2 separate regions of the Homo sapiens genome follow, and region 2 is linked to region 1. Evidence: promoter capture Hi-C in 16 types of primary human blood cells and fetal thymus (Javierre and others, 2016). All regions are on one chromosome and are shown on one strand. The core of a region is centred on a gene start or on the middle of the fragment in contact, and the rest is flanking DNA. Distances in the headings are between cores, read along the strand shown. Region 1 holds the start of FLNB (filamin B). Region 2 overlaps ABHD6 (abhydrolase domain containing 6, acylglycerol lipase).

Region 1 (3,728 bases), core at 420-2,919:
CGTGTAGGTGGATACACATTCTCTGCATACATTCCGTGTACATGCAAACTCTTTGCATATGCACATGCTATACACACATGCTATGTGTGTACACACGTTCTCTGCACAAACGCCCACATGCACACACACATCACAGCCCCTACCATCACAGCCCACACTATCAGTAGCCTTGTGGCCCTCTGGGAAGCCTCCAACTATCTCAGACCACAAGGGAGACTTCATCCTTATTCTTCCTCCCCAGACCAGAAGGCCCAGTCCAGCAAGAGACACCAATTCCCTCCCTCCTTTCAGGAAGACCCTGGTGTAGGTTTGGGAGAGGAGAGGAAAACAAAGCCTCCTTCTAACTGTTGCCCACTTCCTTCAGTTCTCAGCTGGGCCCTACTTGCTGACCTTGGACAGGTCAATTAACCCTCCGGACCCCCTTATCTGTAAAATGGGTCTAGCCTCACCCCAGATGGCAGGATGCGTAGGGACGGAGATAACTTAGAAGGCTGACGGTACACAGTGGACGCTAGTTGGGCTCCCTACAAGACAGCAATTACTGTTACCACCACCATCTCTAAATTATAACTTCGGCAGCAAGGAGTGGGTTCAACCTGCGGCGCGCGGCCAGAGCTGAGCTGGGAGCAGAGAGAGCGAGGACACACACCCGCGCCTACCCTTGCAACCTCGGGGCCCACACCCATTCCAGCGACGGCAGGGGAAGGTACCAGGTCTCTGTCTCCACCTGGGCAGGGAGGCCCCAGGCGCAGAGAACGGTTCCTCCTCAGGTCTCACGGCCCGGCCTCCGAGCCAACGCCCATTCAGCTGCCTCTGAGAGCACCAACCTGGGCGCAGCAGGGAGAGCACTCCGCGGAGCATCTGACCCTAGGGCCCGCCCCCGGGGACAGCGAACGAGGGTTTCTAGTCCCCTAGCTCCCATAGGGGCGCCCCAGGTGTAGAGAAATGCAACAACTCCACCTCTCCTCCTGTGACCCCAGCCCAAACCCTCAACCCTTAGCCAGCCAAAGGTGCACTGCTGGGGCGGATGGCGGGGAGCGATCACAACAGGTCCCATCCCAGGGGAAGACACCGGGGAGGGGGTCTAGGCCCCCTATAACCCACCCCTGGGGACGACTCCCCCTTATCTCCGAGGTGGGGGCGCGCTGCGGGAAATCCTCGCCCTCCGCAGGGGTGCACGCGCGGGGGCGGGTCGGCACCACAGTGGGCGCCTGGGCCCGGCCAGAGAACTCACCGATGGACACGAGCTTGATGCTCTCACGGTCCAGGAACTCGAGCGCCACGGACACATTCTCGAGCTGCATCTGGCGAAAGGTGGGCCGCTGATGGTACTTGCGGTACATGCGCTTCTGGCTGAGCACCTCGAGCAGCGCGATGAGCCGCAGCCCGTCGCTCAGGTCGGTCTGCAGGTTGCCGATGCGTTTGTTCACGCACTTGAGGTGCTCGTTGCACCAGCGTGTGAACGTGTTCTGCTGGATCTTCTTCCAAGGCGCGTCCTCAGCTAGATCCTTCTCGGTTACCGGCATCCTGGTGGCGGGGAGAGCGCAATGCGCAACGAGCTGCCGGGGACTGGTGTTTGGAGGCCCAAGGGCCGAAGGAGCGAGAACCGAAGCGGAGCGGGAGCGGGGTTCGAACTTGCTGCTACCGGAGCCACGGCCGGTGCTGCTCTGCGGCCGCCCGCCCCTGGCCGCGCGAGGCGCCTGGCCCCGCGCCTGCGCGCTGAGCCGCCCCGCCCCCAAGCCCCGCCCCGTCCCGACCCTCCCGCGGGAGTTCCTGGGCCACGCTCGCCTCCTGCCGCCTGCCGCAGGCACTGCGCCCCACTGCGTCCTGGGACCCGCGCTCGAAGCCCACCACCCCAGCAGGATGTAGGGCTGCCTGAATCACCCGGTCAGCCCCGGGGTGGGGGGACCCGCGGGGGCTGGGAGCCGGACAGAATGGGTCGGGCCTCAGTGGGACTTGCGGGAGGGGCGCGCGGGGCGGAGGTCTTCATCCACATATAGATTGAATAAAATTCAGTAAGGGCTTTTATTGAGCTCCGCCTGTGTACCAGCCATTCTTCTCAGAGCCTGCTAACCAGTAGTAAATCAGACAAACGTATTGCACAACCTCAAGGAGTTCACACAGCCTAATGGAAGAGAAAAGTGTAATTCCACCATAACCAACAGCCCAGTAGTGGTGGTAAAAATGAACAATAAGGCTTGTTGCATGTCTTAGTTTCCAGTTACTGCTGTAACAAGTTACCAAAACTTAGTGTCTTTGAAAACACACACCCACAAATGTATTATCCTTCAGTTCTGTAGGTTCGATGGCCCACACAGGTCTTGCTGAGCTAAAAACAAAGTGTTGGCAGGATGCATTCCCTTCTGGAGGCTGTAGGGAAGAATCTGTTTCCTTGTGTTTTCTAACTTCCAGAAGCTGCCTGCGCGCCTGACTCCTGCCCCTTTTCTCTGTGAAAGCCTGCAATGGGCTGGGCACAATGGCTCACACCTGTAATCCCAGCACTTTGGGAGGCCAAGGTGGGTGGATCACCTGAGGTCAGGAGTTCGAGACCAGCCTGGCCAACATGGTAAAACCCCATCTCTACTTAAAATACAAAAATTAGCCAGGTGTGGTGGCGCGTACCTGTAATCCCAGCTACTGGGAAGGCTGAGATAGGAGAATCGCTTGAACCTGGGAGGCAGAGGTTACAGTGAGCTGAGATGGTGCCATTGCACTCCAGCCTGGGCGACAGAGCAAAACTCCGTCTCAAAAAAAAAAAAAAAAAAAAAAAAAACAGAAAAGCAAGCCTGCAATGTCAGGTGGAGTCTCTCAGACCTCAGACAGTCCTCTCTCCATAGGCACATCTTCCTTTTTTTTTTTTTTCCTGCGATGGAGTCTTACTCCGTTGCCCAGGCTAGAGTCCAGTGGTGCAATCTCGGCTCACTGCAACCTCCTCCTCCTGGGTTCAAGCAATTCTCTTGCCTCAACCTCCTGAGTGGCTGGGATTACAGGCACCCGCCACCACGCTCCGCTAATTTTTGTATTTTTAATAGAGACGGGCTTTCACCATGTTGGCCAGGCTGGTCTTGAACTCCTGACCTCAAGCGATCCACCAGCCTCTGCCTCCCAAAGTGATGGGATTACAGGCATGAGCCACCTTGCCCAGCCTTTTTTTTGTCTCACTCCGTCTCCCAAACTGGAGTGCTATGACTCAATCTCGGCTCCCTGCAGCTTCAACCTCCCCACACCTGGCCCTTTTAAGGACTCTTAAGATGACATTGGGCCAGCTGGTTAGTCCAACATGATCTCCCTATTTTAAAATCAGCCGATTAAGAACCCTAATCCTGTTTGCAACCTTAATTCCCCTTTGCCATTTAAGGGAATGTTCACAGGTCCTGAGAGTTAGGATGTGAACGTCTTTGGGGGCTATTACTCTGCCTACCACAGCATACATTGAGCACTTACTCTGTACTCATCCAGGTTCTGTGCTAGGTTCTGAGATATGGCAGAGTCTCAGGCCAGCCCTCTGTTGATAAAAGCCTGAATAATTACAACAGCAAGCATTGAATGAACACCTGCTGTTCCTCTGTGCCAAGCACAGTGCAAAGCAATTTCTTTCAAGTCGGGTGCAGTGGCTCACACCTGTAATCCCAGCACCTTGGGAGGCCAAGGTGGGCAGATCACCTGAGGTCAGGAGTTCGAGACCAGCCTGACCAACATGAAAAAACCCTAGCTCTACTAAAAATACA
Region 2 (4,185 bases), core at 56-2,555, 280 kb before region 1:
GGCTACTTTTTTAAAAATTTATTTTTTATAGAGATGGGATCTCACTATGCTGCCCAGGTTGGTCTCAAACTCCTGGGCTCAAGCAATCCTCCTGCCTTAGCCTCCCAAAGTGCTGGCATTATAGGCGTAAGCCACCATGCCTGGCCTTCTTTCAAATTTTCTGTAAGTTTGAAATTATTTCAAGATAAAATTTTTTTAAGAATAGAAGGAATAGATTTGTTTGGGCTGATATAAAATGATTTCCAAGATACCTACTTATATATACATATACATATATATATATATATACACACACACACACACACACACACACACACATATATGATCTTATATATCTTATATGCACACCTATATATATCTAAGCTTTCAAACATGCATCTTAGATGCCAGTGTATCTAGCATGTTTGAAAGCTCAGATATGTATAGGTATGCATATATATACACTATACGTGTGCTTAGAATAGGAGTAGGCAAACAATGGCTCACTGCCCGTTTTTATAAATAAAGGTTCACTGGAAAAAGCCATGCCATTTGTTTACATATTGCCTATGGCTGCTTTTATACTATAAGGTCACAGTTACTCAACTGTGTCCAGGTGTGACAGAGACTGGACCACAAGGCTGAAAATGTTTACCATCTGGCCCTTTACAGAAAACATTTGCTAACTTCTGGCTTAAAAAATTTAGGCCAAGCATGTTGGCTCATGCTTGTAATCCCAGCACTTTGGGAGGCTAAGGAAGGTGGACTGCTTGAAGTCAGGAGCTCAAGACCAGCCTGGCCAAAATGGTGAAACCCCGTCTCTACTAAAAAAAATACAAAAATTGCCAGGTGTGGTGGCTCACGCCTGTAATCCCAACACTTTGGGAGGCTGAGGCCGGCAGATCATGACGTCAGGAGATCGAGACCATCCTGGCTAACATGGTGAAACCCCGTCTCTACTAAAAATACAAAAAATTAGCTGGGCATGGTGGCGGGTGCCTGTAGTCCCAGCTACTTGAGAGGCTGAGGCAGGAGAATGGCGTGAACCCAGGAGGCAGAGCTTGCAGTGAGCCGAGATTGTGCCACTGCACTCCAGCCTGGGTAACAGAGCAAGACTTCGTCTAAAAAAAAAAAAACAAAAGAACAAAAAACAAAAATTAGGTGAGCATGGTGGAGGGCACCTGTAATCCCAGCTACTTGGGAGGCTGAGGCAGGAGAATCGCTTGAACCTGGGAGGCAGAAGTTGCAGTGAGCCAAGATTGGGCCACTGCACTCCAGCCTGGGTGACAGAGCAAGACTCCGTCTCAAACGAAAAAAAGAAAAGAAATATATTCAAGATAGTAAGATAAGAGTTGCCTCATGGTAATGGAGAATGGAATTTGGGATGCGAAAAAGAAAAGTTTTCATTATAAACCTTTTGGTGTTCTTTGAAGATCTTTTTATACCATGTGACTACATGGCTTTGATAAAAACAATTTTTGAAAATGATTTAAAATTGTCTTTCCTTTTACCAGACCAAATGTTGTTTCTCTCCACTCCCAGAACTCTGCCCACTGTCAACACTGGCACCCAACACAGGTGCCTTCCCCCTCTTCCTGACAGCAGCGATCAGCTCACTCCATAAATAACCACTTGTTCTTCCTCAAGGACGTTTTTCCTCAGAGGCCCTGGTGACCAGCACAGACTGCCGCGGGGATGTGTTACATACCTGGTCTTGTTTCCCCCAGATGATCTGCGTCGGAACCTTGATCTTGTCCATGTTCTGATGGAGAGAGTATCTGGACTTCTCACTGACGATTTCCAAAAACACTTGTCAGAAAAGGAAAACAAAGTGAGTATGTGCTGGACTGTGCCTGTGGCACCACCGCAGAATCAAGGGATAGTCACCAGATCCAGGCCACCACTTCCTCTCTTCAGGGGCCCAAAGAGACATTCAAAGTGTCAGAGATTTAAGAAATAAAAGCCATCCATCCACAGAGCTTCACTTGTAACAAGCTCCAAGCTGAAAGTAGGGCTACTTACACTTTCGGTAGAAGTTGTTATGAGGGATGCGGACATCGACAAGGCCTTGCAGGATCTAAGGATAAATAACCCAAAGTTAGAGAGCAAGAGAAGATTCATTTCCTCAGGCCTCTCACAGCTCTGGGACAATGAATGGGAATGAGGTCCAGCAATTTATTGCACTGTCAAGGTCTTTAGAGCCTGGTCCTCTGAATTCCCATGATGCAGCACACAGTCTAATGGGGAGTTAGGCTTCTAAGAAGCTTTTTATTATTATTATTATTATAAAGGAACTTGGGTAATATCGTGAAACTGGAGGTGCCCTACAGCATGTTAAATACACCTGAGATGGCCTGACAGCAACTTTAGCTTGAGAGATTCTCTGCTTCACTTAAGACATAATCAGGATGGGCCGGGCATGGTGGCTCATGCCTGTAATCCCAGCACTTCAGGAGGCCAAGGCGGGCAGATCACTTGAGGCCAGGAGTTCAAGACCAGCCTGGCCAAATGGTGAAACCCCCATCTCTACTAAAAAGACAAAAACTAGCAGGATGTGATGGTGCAGGCCTGTAATCCCATCTACTCGGGAGGCTGAGGCAGGAGAATCACTTGAACCCAGGAGGCGGAGGTTGCAGTGAGCTGAGATTGCGCCACTGCACTCCAACCTGGGCGACAGTGAGACTCTATCTCAAAAAAAAAAAAAAGACATAATGAGGATGACCATAATATCAAGTAATTCGCCAGTAATATCCAAACGCAGAACAAGTTCCATTAAAAAAATTAAGCCACTGGGGGATGATAGGTCTATTAAACAACAAAGAAATAAACTATTGAAAAGATTCTGGGGAGGGTTCCACAGTCCCACTGGGAGGGTTCAACAGCCCTTTGTTTATCATTTGACACTGTCTTTGCCTTCCCTGCTGAGGGCTGGTGAGGGCTGCAGCCAATGTGGACAGGCCACATCTTCTGGACCTGGGCTACTGACCCAAAGAGGTAGTGGTGGCTGGAAGGAACACAGTTCTTCTCTTCCTCCTGCCTCAGGACTCCTGAGGTAGAGTACAGGGTTCACATTAGTGGCTGTACTCCTCTACTCCTCTCCTCTACCTGCAAACAGGTCTGAACCCTTTAATTACACTCTCTCAGGAGTCCTGTGCACTGACTGAAAGTGGGGAAGAACCAGCCATGGCTGCTATGGACTAAACCAACCCTCTGGAGCATCACTAGACTCTAACTCATTCAGCCTGGACATGAGGACAATGACAATTTGTTGAATAACAACATTGTGCTCAGCATCAGAGATTTTCTTTGTTCAGCTATCCACCTGTACCCACATATCTATTCATCTTGTGTCCATCCATCCTCCACCTCTGCTCAATGCAGCCATCCATCCTGAACCACATATGCATTTGTCTACCTATCTATCCTGTATTCATCAATCCATCCAACCTCCATCTCTGCATTAACCAGATATCCTCCCATCCATCCATCCATCCAACCATTCAGCCATCTATCCATCCTGCAGACCTAAATCATCTGTGCACTGGCACATCAATCAATTCATGCAAAAATCTATCCTGCATCTACCCACCCATCCATTGTCCATCCCTGCATTATCCAGGCATCCTCTCATCCATCAATCCATCCAATCTATACCTAGGACCTACTTCATGCAAGCACTGTGCTAAAGTCTGGGGATAGAACAGCCAATTAAGACAAAGTCCCTAGTGGAAGACACAGACGTGCAATCACAACACAATATGACATGGTGGGCTGAGTGTGCAGGTGCTCCTTCTCTCCTAGGAAGGAAAGACTTTTGGAGCTGCCATTTATTTTTCTCTTGGTGTTTTCATATCCCTGACAACCCAAAACATGGAGTTTTCTAAAACATCATTTGGCCACTCTATTCTGGGAAGAGATCAGTGCTGGGAGAAAGGAATGCTACTTCATGGCTAAAAAGGGATTTCAGGGGTGGAACATGCCACAGCATCAGATTCTGGGTGTTTCCTGAGGGACAGGCCGTATCTATTAACTGAGCCATGTTCACAACTTCTGAATGGGATCTATTCCCTCAAGTCTTAGGAGGACCTGCCCACCTCCAGGCAGGGTCCAGCTCCTACAACAGAGGGAGATAATTTGGGGTTATGAAGCCTCAGCCATGGACTCTCCTCTCTTGGTTCTTCACACCATTTCCCTAGATGACTTCAT

Evidence for each region. Contacts are between HindIII fragments. The CHiCAGO score rates a contact against its expected background, and 5 or more counts as called.
Region 2: a contact is called between a fragment that was not itself captured here and the fragment with the promoter of FLNB in region 1, in 2 of 17 cell types (M1 macrophages and naive B cells). The highest score is 6.4, in M1 macrophages.

What each region holds. Positions count from the first base shown.
Region 1 is chr3:58,006,363-58,010,090 of GRCh38, reverse strand. FLNB (filamin B) reads right to left here and starts at 1,669. Exons shown (of 46, transcript NM_001457.4): 1 at 1,235-1,669. The coding sequence starts at 1,526. The HindIII fragment of the contact is 11,042 bases long and covers 1-3,728 here.
Region 2 is chr3:58,282,956-58,287,140 of GRCh38, reverse strand. ABHD6 (abhydrolase domain containing 6, acylglycerol lipase) reads right to left here. Exons shown (of 10, transcript NM_001320126.2): 8 at 2,002-2,056; 9 at 1,688-1,788. Among named protein-coding and RNA genes, the nearest start is that of RPP14, 21 kb to the left of the region's middle. The HindIII fragment of the contact is 1,880 bases long and covers 366-2,245 here.